Regions from separate parts of the Homo sapiens genome. Here region 1 is linked to region 2. The links are contacts of gene promoters, found by promoter capture Hi-C in blood cells and fetal thymus (Javierre and others, 2016). All regions are on one chromosome and are shown on one strand. The core of a region is centred on a gene start or on the middle of the fragment in contact, and the rest is flanking DNA. Distances in the headings are between cores, read along the strand shown.

Region 1 (3,891 bases), core at 338-2,837, about 20 Mb after region 2:
AAAATGTGTGAAGCAAAAATTGACAGTACTAAAGGAAGAAAGAGACAAACCCACAGAGTTGGGAATTGTAAAATCTTTTGCTCAGTAACTGACAGAACAAGTAGACAATAAAATCGATAACAATATAGAGGATTTACATACCACTATATCAAGTACCTTGGCCAAGATGATAAATATATATTAATAGAATACCACACCCACTTACCAAAAGCCAAGCTGGGCTGAAGAGAACTGAGCTGCAAGGTGTTGGAATAAGTGATTAACACAACCAGCCTTTAATCACTTAGTAGTCACTTAATTTAAGAGGCTAACCCAGAGAAAGCGCTGAGTACTCCACTGTTTCACTCCCCCAACCCCAACCATGAAATAGCACCTGGAGAGGGTCAGAGAGGGTCAGGCAGATCAGTGCAAATGTGGATCAGTGCAGAAGTGAGTCATCTCACTGCTAAGGGAATGCAGAACAAAAAGCTCCTATCATTCATTTTATGGACTGGGACCAGGGGACAAGAAGACAAGGGAAGGGCTAAGAGTGAAAAAGTAGTGAGGCCTGGCTGGGCACGGTGGCTCATGCCTGTAAGCAACCCCAGCACTTGGGGAGGCCGAGGCAGGAAGATTACTTGAGGCCAGAAGTTTGAGACCAGCCTGGGCAACATAGCAAGAATCTGTCTCTACAAAATAATAATAATAATAATAATAATAATAATAATAATAATAATAAAACATCAGCCAGGCATTGTGATGCAAACCTGTAGTCCTAGCTACTTGGGAGGCTGAGGCAGGAGGATTGCTTGAACTGTCCAGGAGTTCAAGGCTGCAATGAGCTATGATCATGCCACTACACTCCAGTCTGGGCGACAGAGCAATATCCTGTCTCCAAAAATATGTTAAAAAAAAAGAAAAGAGAAGAAAGAAAAAAGAAATAAAGAAAAAAATTAAAACTACCGGATACTAAGAGTGGGGAAAGAAAGTGTCTTCAAAGTTTCCCCTCTCCCCTAGATTAGGATGTCCTCTTGGCAGAGGCACCTGATAAAGAGGCCTCCTAATGGAGGTGCCTGGGTTAGGAATGTAAACACGCATAACAGCATGGCTGGTCTGGGAGGCCTGAGTCCTGCACTGCAACTCCCTTTAGAGACTGTAATGCACTAGAAGTGCACCAAGTCTGCTGCGGGGAGGCCACCTTTCCCCTGTGTGGCCTGCCAGGAATGACCTGGTGGAGCCTGAGAACCCACACATAGGATTTTAGCAAGAGTCAGACTCTTCATTAACAACTGCGTATGGAAAGGTCATCAAAATAAACCAGATGCTGGGTCATAAAACAAGTAACAGTAAATATTTTAAAAACTGAATTATACAGAGAATATACTGTGGTCAGTGTCCACATATTATTAAATTACAAACTAGTAACAAGAATCTCCAAATATTTGGAAATTAAACATACTTCTAAATAACCCATGCAAAAAGACATTGAAAAATATGCCGAACTGAGTGACAATGGAAACACACTTATCAGATTCTGTGAGCTGCAACAAAAGCAGTATTTAGAGGAAAATTAATAGTGTTAAATGCTTATGTTAGAAAAATGATTTAGGCTCCCACCTTAGGAAGCTGGAAAAAGAAGAGCAAGTGAAGCTGAAAGTAAGAAGAAAAGAAAGAATAAAAATAAGCACAAAATCCACAATATAAAGTAGATTACAATAGAGAATATCAACAAACTCAAAAATCAATTCTTTCAAAAGATTAATACAGTTTACAAACCCCTATCAAGTTTTCAAAAAAAAATATTACCAAAGTGGAGACTGGACCACAGATTTTTTAAGGCTTTAATTAAAAAGATAATACAATTCTATGCCAATAATTTTGGCAATTTCAACAATATAGACAAATTCCTTAAAACAAAAATTGCCAAAATTCACACAAGAAAAAACAGAAATACAAATCATCCCATGGATATTAAAGAAATTGAATGTGAGAAACAAACAAATAAACTGTCCACAGAGAAGGCCCAGATGGCTTTACTGGTAAATTCTACCAATATTTAAGGCAGATATAATACTGTTCTTTCACAAACGTTTTCAGAAAACAGAAAAAGGAGACAGCAGTCTGTTCTACATTTTGAGGCCAAATAACCATAATACTAAAACCTCACAAAGATATTACATGAAAAAAGTTACAGCTCAATAGCTTCTAGGAAGACAGACATACAACAAAGTTATAAAGTATTACCAATCAAATCTATTTGACTTTGGAACCACAAGTATGTTTTCTATAACTATAATCACAAAATTAAATCAAAATGAAAAAAAATCTCTAAGAAATAAAAGCAAAATGAAACAAACTTATCTGTGCATAAAGCTGGAAGGTTAAACATATAAAGGAAGTGATTATTTTCGGGAACTTTAAAATACAGTCATTTGACATTAGACCCAATATAACCTACAAACAAAATAACTATAAACTGTTTTTCAAAGTTGTCTTAAGAGTTTATAACTTTATGAAGTTATGTCTTAGAGTTTTTCAGTAGTTATACTGTTATTAATAATATTGGCATTGTTAGTCTAAAAGTAATATATGTATATAACCTGAAATGATTATACACACACATATATCAGTGAGAATCTTAATATCATTAATCATTACGAATTAAGATTTTTTCAGATTATAAAACACAAATATAAAATCAAAGATAGTAAGAAAAACTCTATAATCTTTTATTTCAATTGGAAATATCAGTATACACTCAGGATTTTTTTTCTCCTTCTAAAAAATTTGTATTTCACCAGCTCTGTTAAGGCTATAAGCAATGACAACTAGGAGCAATGAGAGTTCCTACTATCCTTGTTGTGACTTCTTAAAAGCACTTCTTATAAAAGGAACCAGGGCTCCATAAAGAAGTGGCTGATTTTATGTTTGGGACAGGAAATTGTACAAAATGAGCCTGGAATACTCTGTCAGCACGGAAAGTCTGGAATCTGCCAAAGACTACTGGGGTCATGTCAAAAAGAATAAAAAGGAATCCAAAAGCAGACAAATCAGAGAGGGTAAACCTTCCACTTGCCATACATGGAACAATGTGAGCATTAATAAGAACAGTTATTGTCACAGATCGAAACATAACAGATATGTTTTAATACACAAGTTAATAATAATAGTTTAAAAGAAAAACACAGAATAAGCTTTGAAAGATGCTGAAAAATAATAAGAGAAAAACCAATCTTTCATTCCAGTTTTTCTTTTTGCATAAACTATTCTTCAGGTAACCAAGACATTGAGAAAGGATGGCTCCCTTTATAGATATAGTCCAGCTAATAAATGCAGAAGAATTAGAATATAATTCTGTAACCACTGATAAAATAACATATTCACATAAAGATGTCAGTAGCTGGCTGTTAACATCACATAAAGGAAAACAACCAGATACTATGCCCTACTTCAGAGAAGTGCACATCACTATGTATGATGGATTACTAAAATAAAAAAAAAAAAAAAGCAAAAACGGGGCCAGGCATGGTGGCTCACGCCTGTAATCCCAGCACTTTGGGAGGCAGAGGTGGGCGGATCACAAGGTCAGGAGATCGAGACCATCCTGGCCAACATGGTGAAACCCTGTCTCTACTAAAATACAAAAAATTAGCTGGGCATGGTGGCGCGTGCCTGTAGCCCCAGCTACTATAGAGGGAAGAAAGGAGCAGGTAGAGGGGACAGAAATGGACACTAGACTTCTTCAAATTCATCTTATTCTGTACTTTTGATTTTAGATATATGTTATGTAATTTTAAAACAAAATTAAATCATAGTGGGAGAAAAGCAATCCCTAAACATGAAAAGCAATATAAAACAAATGAGCATAACTGCATTTCCAGCTGGCAGCTTAACCATACGAGAAGTGTTATT
Region 2 (4,093 bases), core at 816-3,315:
CCATTGCTCCTGGGAAAATCATTGCCATGGTTCCCTTTCCGGAACCCTCTAGAAATCTCTTTGTACCTATCTCTAAGCCAGTTCTAGCTATTTATTCAGTGAACTCCTTCAGAGCCTTTCAATATGTTTCTTTACATAAGGCAGTGGAGTTAGATTCTGTTGCTTATAACCAAAGAATCCAAACCTATACGCAGTACTTATTAATATTCTGGAGATACAATGAGGTTAATTAGGGTATCCAAGGATAAAGCTGTAGAACATACGTGCCATTATATTAAATTTACACAATAACATTCAGAAGTAAACTTCTCAGAAGGCAATGCGGACCCTCCTGACAGCCACAAACAGAGCTCCCACCAGCCCACAGTAAACTCAGAGACCCCAGAGCCTCCAGACCCGCACCTCACCGTGGCTGTGCGCTGTTCATCTAATTTCTCGCTTTTCTGCAGCTCCTTGTAGAGCTCACCCCTTGGAGCATATTCCAGAATCAGGTACACCCGGCGTGCATCATGGAAATAGTTATACAGGCGCAGGATATTGGGGTGTCTGAAGGATTAATGTTGGAAGAGTCAGATTTCTCCCTGAGGCCTATCATATGATGCCACCGTCACTGCCTGGTCACACAAGTGGCAAATTATGCTGGGACCAGAATAACAACAGCCCTATCTGGGAGCAAGTGAGGGGAGAACGGAGAACAGGAACCAGGATTCGAGTGTCTGACCCAGGGTAGGAGGTAGTGTAAATGGAATGAACTGCAGAGAAGTCTTCAAGGTACAAGTGCAGGGTTTACTTGGGGTTAGTATTTGGGGAAAATGCTGGGCTCAGACGTCAAAGATGAAAGAGGAAGCAGAGACTGTCCTTACTGTAGATGAGCCTGGATCTCAATTTCCCGGCGCAGCTGGTGCTCCAGTCCTTCCTTCTCTATCTGCGACTTGAAGAGAACCTTCAGGGCCACAATGAAATGGCTTTCCTTGAGCCGAGCCAGGTACACATTCCCAAATTTCCCCTTGCCCAGGGGACGCCCGATTTCAAAGTCATCGACTGTGAGGCGCCGCCTGACAGGAGAGGAAGAAAAAAGCCTCAGCTTGGGAGGTAGGGTAGGCGGAGGGAAAGTCAGGGATGCCAATGCTCCCCTTCCTCTTTCATTGTATCCTTCCTCTGCCGCTTTCCCTTCTCACACAGACCCAGCCCTATCAGTAGTTCTCGTTCCCAGGAGCCAGCACCCCACACACCCAGTCTGTTCTTCATCCCCACGTCCCACCTTCCTTCCTTTTCCAGATACCAATCCCAAGGGACTCACATGGCTGGGCTGCTGGGCTGCTGGGCTGTTTGGTTTGCTGTAGCCACTGAAAGAGAGGAGGAGGAGGGAGATAGGAAGGGAGAGGGGAGGGAAGGAGAAGGGGAGAGAAAGAGAGGAGAGGAGAACAGTAGAGAAGGGAATAGGGAGCGAGAGGTGAGGGGAAGAAGGGGAGGAGAGAAAGAGAGGGAAGGGGAAGGCAGGGAGAGGGGGAGGGAGAGGTAAGGGGAAGAAGAAAGAGTAAGGTAAGGTAGGGAGGGGAGGAGGAGGTGAAGAAGAGGCAGAGAGAAAGGAAGGGGAGGAGAGAGTAGGGGAGGGAGAGGTGAAAGAAAGAATTGGAGGGAAGGGAGGGAGTGGGGAGAAAAGAAGAGCGTTGGGGAGGAGGAGAGGGAGGGGAGATGTCAACACATGTGTCTTCTGTGCACCCGACCCCTGGCCCAGTCCCCAGCCTTCCCTGCGTCCTTTCTCTGGCGCTGGCTCTCACACTCTTCGCCTGCAGGTTGAGCTTTGCCCAGCTGCACCACAGCTCTGGGGGAGCTCATGGGGAGAAGAGGTGAGGGCGCGGACGCCTTCCTGAACCCTCTGGATGGCTGTTCCCGTTCACAGGGTCCTGAAAGGGGTGGGGGGTCACTTTCTGGCCGGGGCGCTTCCAATCCTGCTCGTCCTGCAGCCTCACTGATGTCTCACTGCTACACAGGCTTCGGGATCCGCGGCGTCGTGAGCAGCCGTGGCTGCGCGGCCTTCTTTTATACCCGGCACCAACCGCTCAGAGAGGTACTTCCTGGCTGGCTCCTATTGGCTGAAATTCCTGACGCCATCGGAAGTGCGCCCAATAGAAAGGACAGAAACGGGAGCCTCAGTCCAGGGTTCCCGGGTTGGGGCGGAACTGGAGTGCTGCGGTCCGGGCTGGGCACTGAAAGCGAGGGCCAGGGGTGAGGCCCGAGAAGGAAGGAGACAGAGGGTGCGGAGAGGTGGTGATGGCCGTTGTGGGAATGAACAACGCATACACCCACGGGGTGTGCATGCGTCAACTAGGAGAGAGCCGCGATGCACGTGGGAATGAACAGACGCCCACTCCTGACGTGCTGGAGCCTCGTGCAGCCCGTGACCCTAAACCACTTCGCGCCTTGTGCAGCCGGCGACCCCAAAACCACCTTGCTTCAAGGTCACGTCCGATTCAGGCCACTCTCCAGGGTCACCGCGATGGGGCTCCCTGAAGCCTGCGGCTGTGCCTGCTCACAGCCAGGACGCCACCAGTCCAGCTCACTTACCCCTCTCCTCCCACTCGCCAAATATTTGTTGGACCCTGTAATCAGTTTGTGGATTTGGCCTCAGATCGTAAAATCAGCCCCCACGTATTTGTTTAGCAAACACATAAGTTTCAAAAACATTAAAAATTGAATTCTTTTAGACAGGGAACATATCTTGCAGAAATATAATTGAAGGCCTGGCGTGATGGCTCATGCCTGTAATCCCAGCACTTTGGGAGGCCGAGGCGGGCGGATCACCTGAGGTAGGCAGTTCGAGACCAGCCTGGCCAACAGGGCGAAACCCCGTTTCTACTACAAAAATTAGCCGGGTGTGGTGGCGCATGCCTGTAATCCCACCTACTCAAAAGGCTGAGGCAAGAGAATCGCTTGAACCCTGGAGGCGGAGGTTGCAGTGAGCCAAGATCATGCCACTGCACTCCAGCCTGGGCGACAGAAGGAGAACGAGACTCTGTCTCAAAAAAAACAAAAACAAAAACAAAAAAACCCAAAAACAAAAAAGCTCGTCTCAAAATATTTGGGGAGACCTATTTGAGTAATAAAACTCTGGTCTCTCATTTAGCTCGATTGATGTGAATTAAACCCTTTATTGCAATTATCCTGTCTTGATAAGTCGACTCTATCTGGGGAGCAGGGAAAATAATGAACCCATTAGGTGGTTACAATAGGTGGATCAGGGTAATGGCGCTTAGCTCAGGCCAACCATTCCTTTCTCAGAGGCTTTCCCAAACCTGTCTGTTTGTTTGTTTATTGAGACGGAGTCTTGCTCTGTCACCCAGGCTGGAGTGCAGTGGCTCGAACTCAGCTCATGCAACCTCCGCCTCCTAGGTTCAAACATTTCTCCTGCCTCAGCCTCCTGAGTAGCTGGGATTACAGGCACCTGCCACCATGCCCGGCTAATTTTTGTATTTTTAGTAGAGACAGGGTTTCACCATGTTGGCCAGGCTGGTCTCGAACTCCTGACCTCAGGTGATCCACTCGCCTCGGCTTCCCAAAATACTGGGATCACAGGTGTGAGCCACTGCGCCCAGCTCCAAACTGTCAATTTAAAACAGCCCCCACTACAACGTCATCCTGTTCTGTTTTTCCTTAGGTCACTCATAACCATGTGAAAGTGCTGTTTTATATATGTGTATATTGTTAATTTAATGAGTATCGATTGAGTGCCTATCTTGCAACAGGCACTGCTCTAAAAAATCAGATATGTACATAGCAAAATAATTATGCATTCCTGTACTTGAGGAATTTTTTTTTTTTTTTGAGATGCAGTTTCACTCTGTCGCCCAGGCTGGAGTGCAGTGGTGCGATCTCGGCTCACTGCAACCTCTGCCTCCCAGGTTCAACCAATTCTCCTGCCTCAGACTCCCAAGTAGCTGGGACTACAGGTGCACACCACCACGCCCGGCTAATTTTGGTATTTTTAGTAGAGACAGGGTTTCACCATTTTGGCCAGGCTGGTGTCGAACTCCTGACCACAGATGATCTACCCACCTCAGTCTCCCAAATTGCTGGGATTACAGGCGTGAGC

The links. Contacts are between HindIII fragments. The CHiCAGO score rates a contact against its expected background, and 5 or more counts as called.
Region 1: a contact is called between a fragment that was not itself captured here and the fragment with the promoter of AURKC in region 2, in 1 of 17 cell types (total CD4 T cells). The highest score is 14.1, in total CD4 T cells.

The regions. Positions count from the first base shown.
Region 1 is chr19:37,082,764-37,086,654 of GRCh38, reverse strand. All of the region lies in intron 2 of ZNF420 (zinc finger protein 420), which reads right to left. Among named protein-coding and RNA genes, the nearest start is that of ZNF420, 6.3 kb to the right of the region's middle. The HindIII fragment of the contact is 3,177 bases long and covers 1-3,175 here.
Region 2 is chr19:57,228,995-57,233,087 of GRCh38, reverse strand. It overlaps AURKC (aurora kinase C), which reads right to left and starts at 2,065. Exons shown (of 7, transcript NM_001015878.2): 1 at 1,782-2,065; 2 at 1,301-1,346; 3 at 864-1,055; 4 at 408-546. The coding sequence starts at 1,839. The HindIII fragment of the contact is 17,293 bases long and covers 1-4,093 here.